3 separate regions of the Homo sapiens genome follow, and all the other regions are linked to region 1. Evidence: promoter capture Hi-C in 16 types of primary human blood cells and fetal thymus (Javierre and others, 2016). All regions are on one chromosome and are shown on one strand. Each heading gives the region's core, a stretch centred on a gene start or on the middle of the fragment in contact. The rest is flanking DNA. Distances are from core to core; before and after follow the strand shown. Region 1 holds the start of ECRG4 (ECRG4 augurin precursor). Region 2 overlaps LOC105373531 (a long non-coding RNA gene). Region 3 has its middle 73 kb from the start of ECRG4.

Region 1 (4,657 bases), core at 1,061-3,560:
CAGGCGTGGAGTCAACACACCTGTAGTCCCAGCTACTCGGGAGGCTGAGGTGGGAGGATTGCTTGAGTCCGGGAGATCAAGGCTGCAGTGAGCTATGATCACACCACTGCACTCCTGCCTAGGCAACAAAGTGAGACCCTGTCTCAAAAAAAAAAAAAAAGTTTGGAGGTGGCATAAAGAGTCACCTTTGGGATTACATAAAGATTTTCACTGTAGGCTGGGCATGGTGGTTCATGTTTGTAATCCCAGCACTTTGGGAGGCCAAGATTGGTGGATCACCTGAGGTCGGCAGTTTGAGACCAGCCTGACCAACATGGAGAAACCCCATCTCTACTAAAAATACAAAACAAAAACAAAAACCTTAGCTGGGCGTGGTGACACATGCCTGTAATTCCAGCTACTCGGGAGGCTGAGGTAGGAGAATCGCTTGAACCTGGGAGGCGGAGGTTGCAGTGAGCCAAGGTCACGCCATTACACTCCAGCCTGGGCAACAAGAGCAAAACTCCATCTCAAAAAAAAAAAAAATATTTTCACTGTATAAGAACTTTCACATCCCAGCTCGGTGATGATATTTTAACTGAGTTATTGGTATAAACTAAATAAAATACAAGTCCTGAAAATAAATGGCTTGTAGCCAGTGCTCACTTGACTTATTCAGATGTGCTTTTTTCTTCTTCTTCTTTTATTTATTTCTTTTTTTATTTTGCGACGGAGTTTCACTCTTGTTACCCAGGCTGGAGTGCAATGGCACGATCTCAGCTCGCCGCAATCTCCTCCTCCCAGATTCAAGCAATTCTCCTGCCTCAGCCTCCCGAGTAGCTGGGATTACAGGAACGTGCCATCACGTCTGGCATTTTTAGTAGAGACGGGGTTTCTCCATGTTGGTCAGGCTGGTCTCGAACCCCCGACCTCAGGTGATCTGCCCCCCCCCCCCCCCCGGCCTCCCAAAGTGCTGGGATTACAGGTATGAACCACCAAGGCCGGCCCAGATGTGCTTCTTAAAGTGGCAAGAACAAAGAGTGGGAGGCAGGTAAACCATACAACGGGAAATGACTGATTAGCTTCGCCTGTGATTCTAAGGTGGAACAATAATCCTCCCCACCTGAACAGACCTCACCACGCCTCCTGCTGTTTTAGCAACCCCGGGGCTCCATCCCAGGGCTCCTACTGAATGTCCCCTGCCTCTTCTCACCTCGAGTTCAGTTTCCATACCTGTTTCGAATGAGCAAAATACAGAAACTGAGCAACCGAGTGAGCCTCCCTTTTACATTAGGCAGTGCCCAGCTGCTTTGCAGTGGGACAGCGCCAGTCTCAGGCTCTTGGGCAAGTCACTTCATACACCAGTAACTCTGAGGTAACAATCCCTGCCTCCCCTAGTTGTAAGCTTCAAAGGCAGTCATGTGTCCTTGAGGCCACTTGTGAACCATAAATGTTCCTCCTACCCAGTGAAGGTGGTAACTCAGGACAAACCACGGCTTCAGATTATGGTTCCTAAAGTGGGGCCTGTGGAGCCCAGCGATCAGATATCGGAGCACCCATCATTCTGGGTGTGCGTGTGAATGCACGTTTTACAGAGAGCGAGCAGAGAATTTCAGAGTTTTCAACCGATTCGCTGGGAGCTCCACGAAGCAGGAAAGATTAAGCATTACTCCTTTAAGAGCCTTTCCCCTCTCTGGGGTGTGAGGCCTGTGCCCAGCTTTGCAAATTGCAACTTGACCCAGCTGGGAAGCGCAAGTCAACTTGGTTGCTAAGCGACTGCCTGGAAGGGAATGGCGGTGATGGTGCCATTTGCCTCCTCTGGGTTACCAGCTGCGTAAAGCCCCCACAACCCTTTTGCCCCTTACGTTAAGCCACGAAACACTACTTGCCCACCCTTCGGACGCCTGGCCCTCCTTGCCCAAGGTTGCCCGGGAGATCTGAGACCCTCCCCTTGACCCCGGTACTCTCTCCACCCTCACAAGGGCACCACTTCGCACTTGTGCGAGTGCAAAACCCCAGACCCGGTCCTCTACCACCCCTTGGCCCTGCCTAGGCTAAGGATGGGTCCCTACGCCGCCACCCCATCACCGATCGCTCTCCCCGGGCACCATGGAAGCGCCACATGGGGCCAACCCCTGGTGCCGCTATCAATCAGCCTGGCATCGCCCCGCTCACCTGGGCCCCAGCACAGGAGCAGGAGCAGCGCCAGCCCGGTCAGGGCCAGGACAGCAGGCCGCGCGGGGGAGGCAGCCATGGCGGCGGGGCGCGAGCAGGAGGGCGAGGGGCGCACTTCGAGGTGCTGCGAGGGAGAACCGGGCGCGGGAGAGGGGTGCGAGCGGGCAGGCGCGGCCGCGGGTTATCCCTGCGTCGCTGCCGGGGCGGGACCCAGCGGGTGGGCGCCGCGCCAGAGGGCTGAGGGCCAAGCGGCTGCGCCCAGCGCACGGGCGAGTACCACCGAGGTCCTCTCTCCCGCCCCGGCCCCAAGGGGAACGCAGCCCCTGGGCTCCAAGGCCAAGGATGCTTGGCCACGGAGAACCGCCGGCGGCGGGGGCCGCGTGGCCAGCGCTGCCCGCAGCGAAAGCGGTTAGGACAAGCTGGGTTCCGGAGACCCAAGGAAGGGCAGAAGGCATCGGGAGAAGGGACGAGGCCCCCTGGCCACTCAGAGGGAGGACTTGCCGGATCCCAGCGCTGGGGTGTCTCCTTGGCTCCCCCACTTCCTCCGCCCGCCCCAGCCGCGCCACTGTTCCCCTTACTCCTCACCCCTTTCTTCCCTATCTCCCTCCCTCCCTGCTTGGGGGCCTTGCTTCTGCCTGGTTTGTAAAGTGGGCTTTGGAATTTCCTTAGTTCAGAGCTGCTCTTAAGGATGCCTTAGGCGGGGCTGTTTTTGAGATAGTTTGAAAGATTCCACAGTCTGGGTTCAGAGCTGCAGTCCGGGAAATCGTCTCACCCAAACTTCTCCAATAGAAAAGCCTTTGAGAAACCAGGAACCTGGTGCCCTGCAGCTGTGAGCAAAACCACTGCTTCCCTTTGCCCGCTCTGTAATCTGGGCACACTTCAGCGAGCGATGTTAAGGTGAGACCCAAGGGAAACGCAGAACTGCATCCCAGTAACTGGCCTGTTCAACTGTAGAGGACACGTGAAAGGAGGCGTAGTGAACAAAAACTAGAACAACTTTATCCCAACGGACTCTGAGCGGGTCACCTAATTATTCTCTCCAGGCCTGGGCTACAAAAGGATGGAGATGTGAGATTACCTTTCCTGTCTTCCCATCTCAGATCTGCCCTGAACTGAGCTGATTACCTCTTTCCTTCACCAAGGTTCTCACTTATTTTCCCCTCCCTGAGACGGAGTTTCACTCTTGTTGCCCAGGCTGGAGTGCAGTGATGGGATCTCAGTCACTGCAACCTCCAACTCCGGGGTTCAAGCGATTCTCCTGCCTCAGCCTCCTGAGTAGCTGGGATTACAAGGCATGTGCCACGAGGCCCAGCTAATTTTGTATTTTTAGTAGAGAAGGGATTTTACCATGTTGGCCAGGCTGGTCTTGAACTCCTGAACTCAAATGATTCACCCGCATCGGCCTCCCAAAGTGTTAGGATTACAGGTGTGAGCCACCACACCGGCCAGTATTTTTATACCCTCCAGTGGTAAGCACTTACTGTCTCTCCATATAATTAGCTCTCCATGCAATGCAGTTGAATTTCTCCAGCAGGAAGGAGAAAGAAGTCTTCTAACATTGAGCTAGTAAAGACAGATGGTGGCCAACCAAAGAAAAAAGTGCAAAGTGGGTCTGAGTTAGATCATGATACTGCCCAGGGTGTCAGAGAGAATCAGAAGGATAATGTTACACATCTAGCTATCTTGGGGAAGTGCTTCTAAACCCTTGAGGAAACTGTAGAATAGGGGATAGGAGTTTTAAAAGTAACCAGGCATATATTTACTTTTGCCTGAGGACAAGAAATTTATCATTAGAAAGAAAAATCAAAGCACATAAAAAGCCAATATTCTGTTTGGATTGGTTTAGAACATACATTAAACATAATGGCTGTAATCTTATTTATCCTGTGGAGATCATCCCCCTTACCCCAAATTGCTACCAATATCTACTTCTAATATGACATTCAAATTCTCTTCACTTAAGGGGGATCATGGTGGCTCACGCCTGTAATCCCAGCACTTTGGGAGGCTGAGGAGGGCAGATCACTTGAGGTCAGGAGTTTGAGACCAGCCTGACCAACATGGTGAAACTCCCTCTCTACAAAAATGCAAAAATTAGCCAGGCGTGGTGGTGCGTGCCTGTAGTTCCAGCTACTTGGGAGGCTGAGGCAGGAGAATCACTTGAATCCAGGAGGCGGAGGTTGCAGTGAGCCGAGATTGCGCCACTGCACTCCAGCCTGGGTGACAAAGCGAGACACTATCTAAAAAAAAATAAATTATCTTCACTTAATCGGGATATGACCAGAGAGTGTTCTGTAGCAGGGAGCGTCTCACTCTGCCTTCAGAGGGGCCGCTAAACTCATGTGTTCAGCCTGGAGACACTATGTCAGTTCTTATGCTGATATCTAAGTTCCTTTTCATCTGTCTATTTGTTCAACGGTATTTACTTACTGTCTTAGTCCATTTGGGCTGCTAAACAAAATCCCATAAGCTGGGTAGCTTATAAGCAACAGAAATGGATTTT
Region 2 (4,657 bases), core at 1,534-4,033, 110 kb after region 1:
CCAGCAGAGTAACCGATCTTGTCATTACCCCCATTTCCAAGCTCACCTCTTTATATTCAAAGAGAGATAACATTTCTTTGACCAGGGAAGGCTTGTCTGTTTGCAAACACTTGAAAGGAACATCTGTCACTCTTGTGGGGCCCTTACAGGTTCCAAATGTCCCTCACAGGGTTTCATTACCTCAACCCTCTAGATTATATTGGAAAGGGGAGGCATATACATGTGTGCTTGCAGTTGAAGGAAGGAACCCAGGCTTAACTTTCTACAGATTCTCAAAGATGTCTGTGCCCCTGAAAGATTAAGAAGAAGGAATTAATTTGTGTTCCAGGGCTGGCTGAGCCTTGCAGCATGACAGTAATCCTGGGGAACTGAAGTTCCACACCTTTGAAAAGAGAGCTGGAGAAAGAGACCCCATGGCCACAGGTCCCAGCAGGCTTGCTCAGTGACCCCACCACATGGAATGCCAGAGACCAGGCTAGATTCCAGATGTAGTGCAGGGCAGCTGGGCACGTAGCCGTGCCACCCTCACTGGCACACATTGTCAACAAGGAGGCAGATGCATAGGTCTCTGAATGGATGCGTGAGGGTGACTTTTGAACATTTTCATTCTGCACTTAGCTGAGCTAAGCTCTGGGCTCTCAGCACTGAACTGGAGGTGGAGGAGTAAAACAAGGACTTAGCAAAATGTTTCTTAAATGGTCATTTAAAAACTCTCCTAGCTTGTTGCCATTAAATTGGACCTTACTATTTATGTGAGACCTGGATTTTAGTACATTGCTTTTTGTAAGCCATTAACCATGTAAAATGATCCAGAGTCAATTTAGAGTTAAATAAGAGCTAATATTACAATCCCCATTTAATATTTTGGTTACATAGAAAGTTTTATTTTTAATAAAACAGGAGATGTAGTGGGAAGGAAAGCCAGGGTCCTGCATGCAATTACATTATATACGCTCTGACTTTTAATAACACCATATTCACATGACTCGGGCAACAGCATTGAATGCTGTATTTTCATGCCACGCATGTGACCCAGGACTTTATTAAAATATAAGTCATGTTTAATCGTACAATATGAAAAGCCATTCTCATGTCAATGGACTTCCTTCAAATTTCCACAGTTCAATAAAGGGCCCAAGAGCTACACTGAACAAATCATGGGAATTAGAAATAGAAAAGATCTGTTTACCTATAGGACATGATTTTAGATTCCTGTCTTATTCATGCAGTCATTCACTAAGCATTTATTGAACACTTATATTTAGAAACATCATCCCAAACTTGGAAATAAGAAGTGACTGACAGCATGTCCTTCCATTGTCATGCCATGACCTGCCAGGATTTTCAAACCTCTGGGAGAATAAATCTGTGTTTGACATTGTTGCTTACTGATTAGAGCCCAGTCTCTGTGATGTTACCTGTAGATTTCTGTCCATTAGAGAAGCTGTGGTTTCATTGCTCGGTAGAACATTAACCAATGTTCTATATAACCTAGCAATCATATTCTAACACTCTGTTCCCAAAAACCTTCTAGAAATACCCAATTCTTAAAAATGCTTTCTGAACAGGCATTACTATTATATGTGTTCCCTTTTTTGTAATGAAATCTCTCTTTGACACATGTATTCTAGATTGGTGTTTTAGTCTACTTGTGCTGCTGTAACAGAATACCACAGAAAGGTAGGTACTTTATAAAGAACAGAATTTTATTTCTACTCTTTCTGGGGTCTAGGAAGTCCAAGATTAAAGCACTGGCATCTGGTGTGAGCCTTCTTGCTCTGTTCTCACATGGCAGAAGTGGACGGGCAAGAGAGAACAAATGCCGTGTGCTGATGTGGCAGAAGAGCAGAAGAGCAAGCCAGCCAAACACAGCCGGAGCCCCTTTTATAAGAGCCTTAATCCCACTTACGGGAAAAAAGCTGCCATGGTCTAATCATCTCTTAAAGACCTCACCTTTTAATATGATCACATTGGCAACACTTGGATTTTGGAGGGGACACATTTAAACCACAGCAATTGAGATGACATCACATTTTTGACTTTTTGAAAGTTATACTCTGTGCTGTGAAAGGTTTACAGATATATAAATGACAACTCCTTGCCCTCAAAGTCTGTCCACAACAGCTGAATATTAGAAAGTGATCAGTGCCACAGGGAAGGATGGAGGAATTAGGAAGCAGAACAGAAGCTTGATTGGCAGCTGGAAGCTTAGGGAAATCTTTATGAAAGAAAGGGAATGCTTTGGCCAGCCCAGGCAGTGAGGAGAGGCACTGGGCTATGACATCCCTGACCTTTGGGGAAGTTTAATGTCATCTCTCTTCCTGTTATGTCTTCATCTTTTTTTTTCTTTTCTTTCAATCCCAGATCTTCCTTTTCCTTGCTCATCTTTGCCCTTCCTCAGCTGCTCCATTTCTCTTTCCTCCGGACCCCATTCTTCTTGCCACTTACTTCAGAAGATAAGTATTTGGAAGAACTAGGCTGGGACCTCTCTGCAGAGAGGGAGCTGAGCAGGGAGCCCATGTCACTCCCGGGGGCCTCCTGTGCTGTGGGTGGAAGGGAGCTTGTTTTAGAAGAAAAAGCTCCAGAGGATCAGAGGATGAAAAAAGAGCCAGGGAGTCAGGCAATCTACATTTATTTAAAATGGTTTCATGGAGTTGGCCATTCTCTTTAATAGGCAATTTAAAACAATATCAATATTTATGGGCATTTATGCAGCAGGTGCTGAGGCAGCCAGCACCTTCCCGAGGCAGCTAGGATTACAAAGACACTGGTCTGATCTTTTGCATGAGGAGAGCACATTGGCTCCCTGGAGCTGAAATCACTCTTCCAGGGCCCTGGGGGGCCATTTGGAGTTCAGGAAGTGGAACAAAACTCAATGGTCCCTAAGAACCCTGCCAGGTTAGTGCAGCTCCCTGAAGCAAGCTGCTCCTTTTCATCCTTCCCATCTATTAAGGCTCATTCTCTCTGAATAAGCCGGGGGGCCTCAGCACAGCACAGGGACCGCAGATCATTCTCCTAAAGATGAGCAAATGGCTCCAGGATTAGGACAGGGCAGAAACAAAGTCCCCACCTCCAAGTCTAAGCTGAACCTTAGCCTTGGAGTGCAATAAACACTCAACGACAGGGAGAAACAAACTCTAGGGGTGCCCTCCGGGTGACGCTTGGGCCAAGATCACTTAGGAAGCACCGTTTCATCCCCAGGCCTCATGGGTGTTTCAGAGACTGCTTTGCTTAGGCAGTTACAGGCTATCTGGCCAGTAGCCCCAAACAAAAGTTCTGCGATTTGCATCTTTAGCAGCGGACAATAAGAGATTTATGATATTCAGCAGAAGAGTGATCAGCCCCTATGCAAAGCTTCTCACAAGCGTGGTCTCTGAAAACCCCTTCCTTGATGAAAGGGATCTTTTTCAATGCTCTCCTCTTCTGTCTCCTCCTCTGGGCATGTAAATAAGACATCTCAGGCAGGATTCAGAAACACAAAAGCAATCACACAGCAGCTCCATGCTTGAGGAGCTTGCAGTCCAGCTGTGGATCCAGGCTCAGGAGACGGCGGTGCTTAGCTGGGCAAAGGACATTGCAGCCTCCAGGTGGTGAGGATCTGTGGCCCAGGCTTTGGGAGCAGCTCATTGAAAAGGATAAACTGTGGCAATCAGGAAGCAACTTCCAAAGAACCGATGTTCCTTGCTTAGGTGTCTCACACGCCATCAGGAGGACTGAAGATCATAGCTTTCCTTTCTTAAAATCTGTAGCAGACAGTGTTGATTTCCTACCCTGCCCATCCCTTACCACCTCAAAGCACCCCAGGGCAGCACCTGCATTCTTTTACCTGAGAAAGTGGGTTTCTCCTTGCAACCTACACAGAGGCATGGAGTGGGACAGCCTCCAACCCATGCCGAATGGTGGAGTCGTATAGGAAATACCCCAGCATCTTCACCCCAGGGCAAGAGGACTCAGAGGTGTGTGTTCCACTCCAGCTTCCTGAGCTCCAAGAGGGACTAAGCTCCTAGTGTCCAGGGCAGTAAGTGGCTTCACTTCCTTCCTGACAGACTTCCCTCCTCTCTCTCCCATTCCCACCGCCATCAGAGTTTTCTCCACCTTCATAGTAAACTTGCACTCCCATTCTTGTATCTGGGTCTGCTTCTGGGGCAGCACAAAGCGAAGACACCCCTACTTTTCCTTATTTCTCTCTTCCTTGAGATTCACATCCCTTACTCTAGAAAGTCTCCGAGGAAATCTTCTCCCCCAGCCCCAGGGAAAGTCATACTCCCCTCCCACAGGCAGGCAGGAGCAAAAGAAGGCAGGGAATATTTACCTTTCCATTCCTTTCGTCTGCTCATTTAAAATATAGCGCTAACCAAAGTCTGGGATTATGTGAAGAAACCAACGAAGGGAGGTGAATTGTGAGTGGAGTTTTGCCAAATAACAATAATAATAAATATCTAGTCAGGACCTATATCTTAGTCTGTTCAGGATGCCATAACTAAATACTATAAATTGGGTGGCTTATCAACAAGAGGAATGGGTTTGTGGAGGCTAGAAGTTCAAGATCAAGGTGCCAGCAGATGGAGTGTCTGCTGAGGGTGCTCTTCCTGGTTCATAGATGGCGTCTTCTTTAGTCCTCACTGGTGGAAGGGAAGAACTCTGGTCACTTTGGCCT
Region 3 (4,657 bases), core at 123-2,622, 72 kb after region 1:
AGTCAAAGGAATGATAAAAGGCAAGTTTAGAGTGCATAAAGTGGGACCAGGGGGCCAACGCTAGTATGGAGGCTGTGAAGGCCCCGAGCTCTGGGAGCCCACCATATTTATTGGTGATCAAAGAAGCAGGTGGTGAGGATGTGGGGGTTGAAAGGAAGTGGTGCATCAAGCACATGAGCTATAGCTGTGATGGTTTAGCATTTCCTTTGAAGTATATGGAACATATTCTGCCACTTGAGATAATGGGGAACATGTTCTTATAGTTTAAGATACAATCGTTTTATGAGCTTGGGAGTGCTAGAAGCAAGAAGCCAGCAAGTCTAGACCCATTCCAGAAGCCACGAGGGGTTTTATACCCTGAGCCCTGGATTCCATCCAAGCCACGAAGGGTTTTATGCCCTGGGCTTAGATTGTGGTGTGGCAGGGCAGACTTCCACCATTTAGCACAGAGCTTGGTGTTCCAAAGGCCATGAGGGGCTTTAGACCCTGAACCACAGACATGTTCCAAGACTCTTTTACATCATATCAGACATGCAAGCCCTGCCTCAGCTTCTCCCAACATGCCCCCCTTTTTTTTCATAAAACCACCACAGCTATCATTGCTTGTTCTCGACAGCAGCTTTCTCTCCAGAGACAGCTTCCACATCTGCAGACTAAAAGGAGACAGCACAAGCACATAATTATTAGGATAGAATTTTCAAACGTAGAGCTTCCAATGGCCTTAATCCATTTCATAGGATTGATTGCAGACAATCCATCAGCTGCCTTGTTCAAGATGTCAGTTCCAGGGTGCAGGACTAAGTGAGCCTGAGAAGCTTCAAAAACCTGCTCTTTTAGCTTCACAATATTGAGGGTGAGATTTTTCATCTCTGCTCTCCAGATGGCATTTAATCTTTTCCCATCGGAGTCCTGTTTCATTATAACTATGGAGAGTAATACAAAAGTCAGATGTATTCCAATCACATTGCATGTGGATTCTACTTTCTAAATTCATAATACAATCTCCCATCCAAATCACTGTCTGATGGAGATCATTAATTTGGTTAACTCTTTTTGATCTATTTGAGCCTGAGAATTCCATAGTTTTGTGGAATTCATTTGCCACTTATTGACAAATTCAGCAGTTTGCACAGATGAGTGTAGAGCCACACCAGCTACTGCAGCAGTAGTAGTAACAGCAATGAGGCCAATTATAGCAAATATAAGAGCAACTATAAATCCTCTGGAATGGGATAAGCGTTTTTTAAGGATCTTAGTTACAATATGAATAGATGGTGATGCCTCCCATGGTCTATTTAGGGACACAGGGATCCAAACTCCTTCCCTGGTTCTAATTAATAAAATGGTTTGATTTTTATCAAAGGTTGAGTTAATGCAGGTAAACAAGTGACATTTGGAGCATGTAATAAAGTGTGTATTTATATCAAGAGTAACAGTTCCTATTGCTAGCATAAAAGGTGGCTGAACACAACTCTGAATCCAGAAGGTCCTGTTGGAAAGAAAAGAAAGAACATATTTATTTTTACCTCCCTCCCTGCTATACTTATTATATTTGCCCTCCCAAATTTTGATTGAACTTTGATCTATAGTTAATTTCCATAATTCTGAATGTTCTTGTCCTATGGCAGGAGATATCATTTTTGGACTAGGGGCGACAATGCCAGCAGGACTCCATATGATAGGGAAATCAGCTTCTGTCTGAACATACTGTGTATGATTCCATTGCCAATGATTCCACTGGTTTATTACATTTGTTCAACAAGAGGGCCTTGCAGTGCAATTGTCTTTAAAAATCCTCTTTGGGGACCAATCAATGACGATTCCATAGGAATTATTTTGTAGCACCTCAGCCTTACTTGCTATACAATCTTCCCAAGTTCAAGTGTCCACACCTTCAAACCAAACTCTGTTTTGCCATATTCAAGCTTATTCAGATGGAACTGCAGAATTTTAGGTTTGGAATGATTATATTTTAAACTATGCCCTGAAATCATGTGATTTATTTTTTCCAGGAACTATTGCCAACCAGGCTCGTGTGATAATTTGTAAGCATCCAACAGCAGGTCCCAGGCATATTGGAGGATATTTACATCCTATGGATATATTCATTTTCATCCCTTCCTCATTAGGATGCATTGGCCCTCGGTTATCTATGGGCTCAGGCATCCAGCTACTGTTGTTGGTGTACACCTCAATAACAGGATCCATCCAACTCACAGACCTAATTAAAGGAGGAAATGGGACATATGCCCAGTAAGTGAAATCTGAGTTGCTCCTAAAGTAGGGAAGCTTACCACCATGGTGAGTACCACCAGCATGGCCACCATCAGGTTACTAGTTGTTTATGTTCTGTGCTTTCAAGTTGTCCTCTGCCATCTGTGCCAACTTCTTGATTTGTCCTCATGTTGGAGGATTTGCCTGATGAGTATTCTCAGTCTTCTCCTTCATCTCTGAGATGTTTATTCATGCCATCACTCGTATTGGGAATTCTGGCTCTTCCCATAGTCCTCTCTTCCTGCCGTGGCTCATGATAGATCTTCAGATGTTTGGTGGGCACTCCATTGTTGCAATAAATCTCTACCCCATAAATTGACAGGAATAGGTGTAATAATAGGTTGAATTGTCCCTTCCTGGCCATCTGGCCCTTGACATGGTAAAATCAAGGAACTTTGGCAGTCCGTATGCCAACAATACCCATGGAAGTCTTTTGTTTAGGCAAGTGTCAGGGCCATTGATTTAAAGCAATAATTGAGACATCAGCTCAAGTATCTACTAGTCCTTCAAAGTCCTTTCCCTGAATAGTTACTGTACAAATAGGTTTTTTGTCAGACAAAAAACCTAATTGATTAACCCAATATACAGCCTTCCCTGCTGGATTAGTACTACCAAAGCCTCCTGTTCTTTTCACTGTGCTGCTTCCTAGTTTTGTGTAAGGTAACAGCAACAACTGAGCAATTCTTTCTCCTGGGGAGGCAGACCACGGAGTTGAGGAACTAATAACTAGTTGAATCTCTCCAGTATAATCAGAATCAATTATTCCTGTACGTACAGTGACACCTTTCAAATTTAGACTAGACCTCCCAAGTGGTAGACCAACTGTTCCTGAGTGTAAGCGTCCCCTAACTCCTGTAGAGACCTTTTCTGGTGGCTCTCCAGGAAGCAGGGAGATGGGAATTGTGCTGCAAAGGTCTATGGCAGCACTGCCTGCTGTGGCAGGGGAGAATTCTATGTTTGTAAGGGCACTGGCTGTGCCAGATATGCCTCAGTTTGTTGAGGGGCCCGAGGTGGGCCCCTTTTCCTGTTTCCAGAAAGAGGTTGTCCATCCCTGTAACATTTATCCTTTCCCATGCCCGTAAGCACACAGAGCGCAGCTGAACAATGGCAACATCCTCCATTACTGCTTGATTTTCTAATCAGCTCCAATTAGGGTCGACTCCCATTAACTGTTCAAAGCAAACAGGCACAGGTGGCTGCACTTGTGTGTTTTCCCTTGCCTGATTTTGAGCTTTGTCAGCCCACCAGGTTTTAAACTGTAAATGCTGAGATGGAGTGAAAACAGATTTTGTTAAAGTATTCCAATCATATGGTATTAACCTATTATCAAGAGCCACATTTTTTAACAAAGTTTGCACAAAAGGAGAGTTTGGCCCATGTTGACTAATGGCCTGCTTGAATTCCTTTAACAACTTAAATGAAAAGGTGGCCCAATTAGCTATATTCTGTCCTACTTGCTGGATTATAGTAACTGGAAATTGCCATACTTCAAGGTCTCCGTCGGCTCCAGCCTTTTGAATAGAGTTTTGTATGGCACCACCAATTGCTCCACGTTTTAATGTTGCAGCTACAGGAACGGTAAGTTTTGCAGCTAATTCATCTTCTCACCCATTAAGGGGAGAGGGAGGAAGTGGTCATTCACTTATTTCAGCAGGTGGAGCTGACGGGCTAGTAAAACATACTTTTTCTGTTTCCCTTTCTTTTCTTTAATTTCCTCCAGTTTCTGTTCTTCACATTTAGAATCTGAAGTTAGTTTTTTACACTCGTCCTCCCCTTCCTCATGTGAATCTGCCTCATCATCTGTTTGAAATGGCTCAAGAGCTGCCTTTATTGGTGCCCACATTGACCACATGGAAACTGGAATTTTTGCCCCCTCTTTATATGCCTTTTAAAAATCTCTTCCAATTCTATCCCATTCATCCAACTCTATGGTCCCTTGTTCCAGGAACCATGCGCAAAACTGCTTTACTGTACTAAAAAGTGATAACAAATTCGGATTACTAACTTTCACTCCCCCTCTTCATAATAAATGCCTTAAGAAATTCAAATAAGCAGTATATTTGCTTTCATTCAGTCCCATTGTTACCCTGGTTCTTCCGAGCACTCAGCTTTCCTGCTGAGCTTCTTTCAGTTGTCCTCAGGTGTCCTTTAATGATGGGTCCTCTGCTTTCACATGCTCTAGCATTCCTTCACTGGGGTCTTCATTGCCCCACATCAGGTGCCAGGAATGTTGGGGTGGCTGGACCCAAAACCAGGCCATGGGGATGACGAAGTCCAGCGGACTCAAAGTAATGAGAAAAGACAAGTTTAGAGTGCATAAAGTGGGACCAGGGGGCCAACACTAGTATGGAGGCTGTGAAGGCCCCGAGCTCTGGGAGCCCAC

Evidence for each region. The method cuts DNA at HindIII sites, captures the fragments that hold promoters and counts their contacts. A CHiCAGO score of 5 or more calls a contact.
Region 2: a contact is called between a fragment that was not itself captured here and the fragment with the promoter of ECRG4 in region 1, in 6 of 17 cell types (non-activated CD4 T cells, naive CD4 T cells, naive CD8 T cells and 3 more). The highest score is 8.7, in non-activated CD4 T cells.
Region 3: a contact is called between a fragment that was not itself captured here and the fragment with the promoter of ECRG4 in region 1, in 1 of 17 cell types (non-activated CD4 T cells). The highest score is 5.0, in non-activated CD4 T cells.

The regions. Positions count from the first base shown.
Region 1 is chr2:106,063,341-106,067,997 of GRCh38, reverse strand. It overlaps ECRG4 (ECRG4 augurin precursor), which reads right to left and starts at 2,310. Exons shown (of 4, transcript NM_032411.3): 1 at 2,155-2,310. The coding sequence starts at 2,233. The HindIII fragment of the contact is 9,592 bases long and covers 1,387-4,657 here.
Region 2 is chr2:105,953,257-105,957,913 of GRCh38, reverse strand. The region is part of intron 1 of LOC105373531 (a long non-coding RNA gene); the gene reads right to left. Among named protein-coding and RNA genes, the nearest start is that of ECRG4, 110 kb to the left of the region's middle. The HindIII fragment of the contact is 1,147 bases long and covers 2,210-3,356 here.
Region 3 is chr2:105,990,101-105,994,757 of GRCh38, reverse strand. No RefSeq gene overlaps it. Among named protein-coding and RNA genes, the nearest start is that of ECRG4, 73 kb to the left of the region's middle. The HindIII fragment of the contact is 1,110 bases long and covers 818-1,927 here.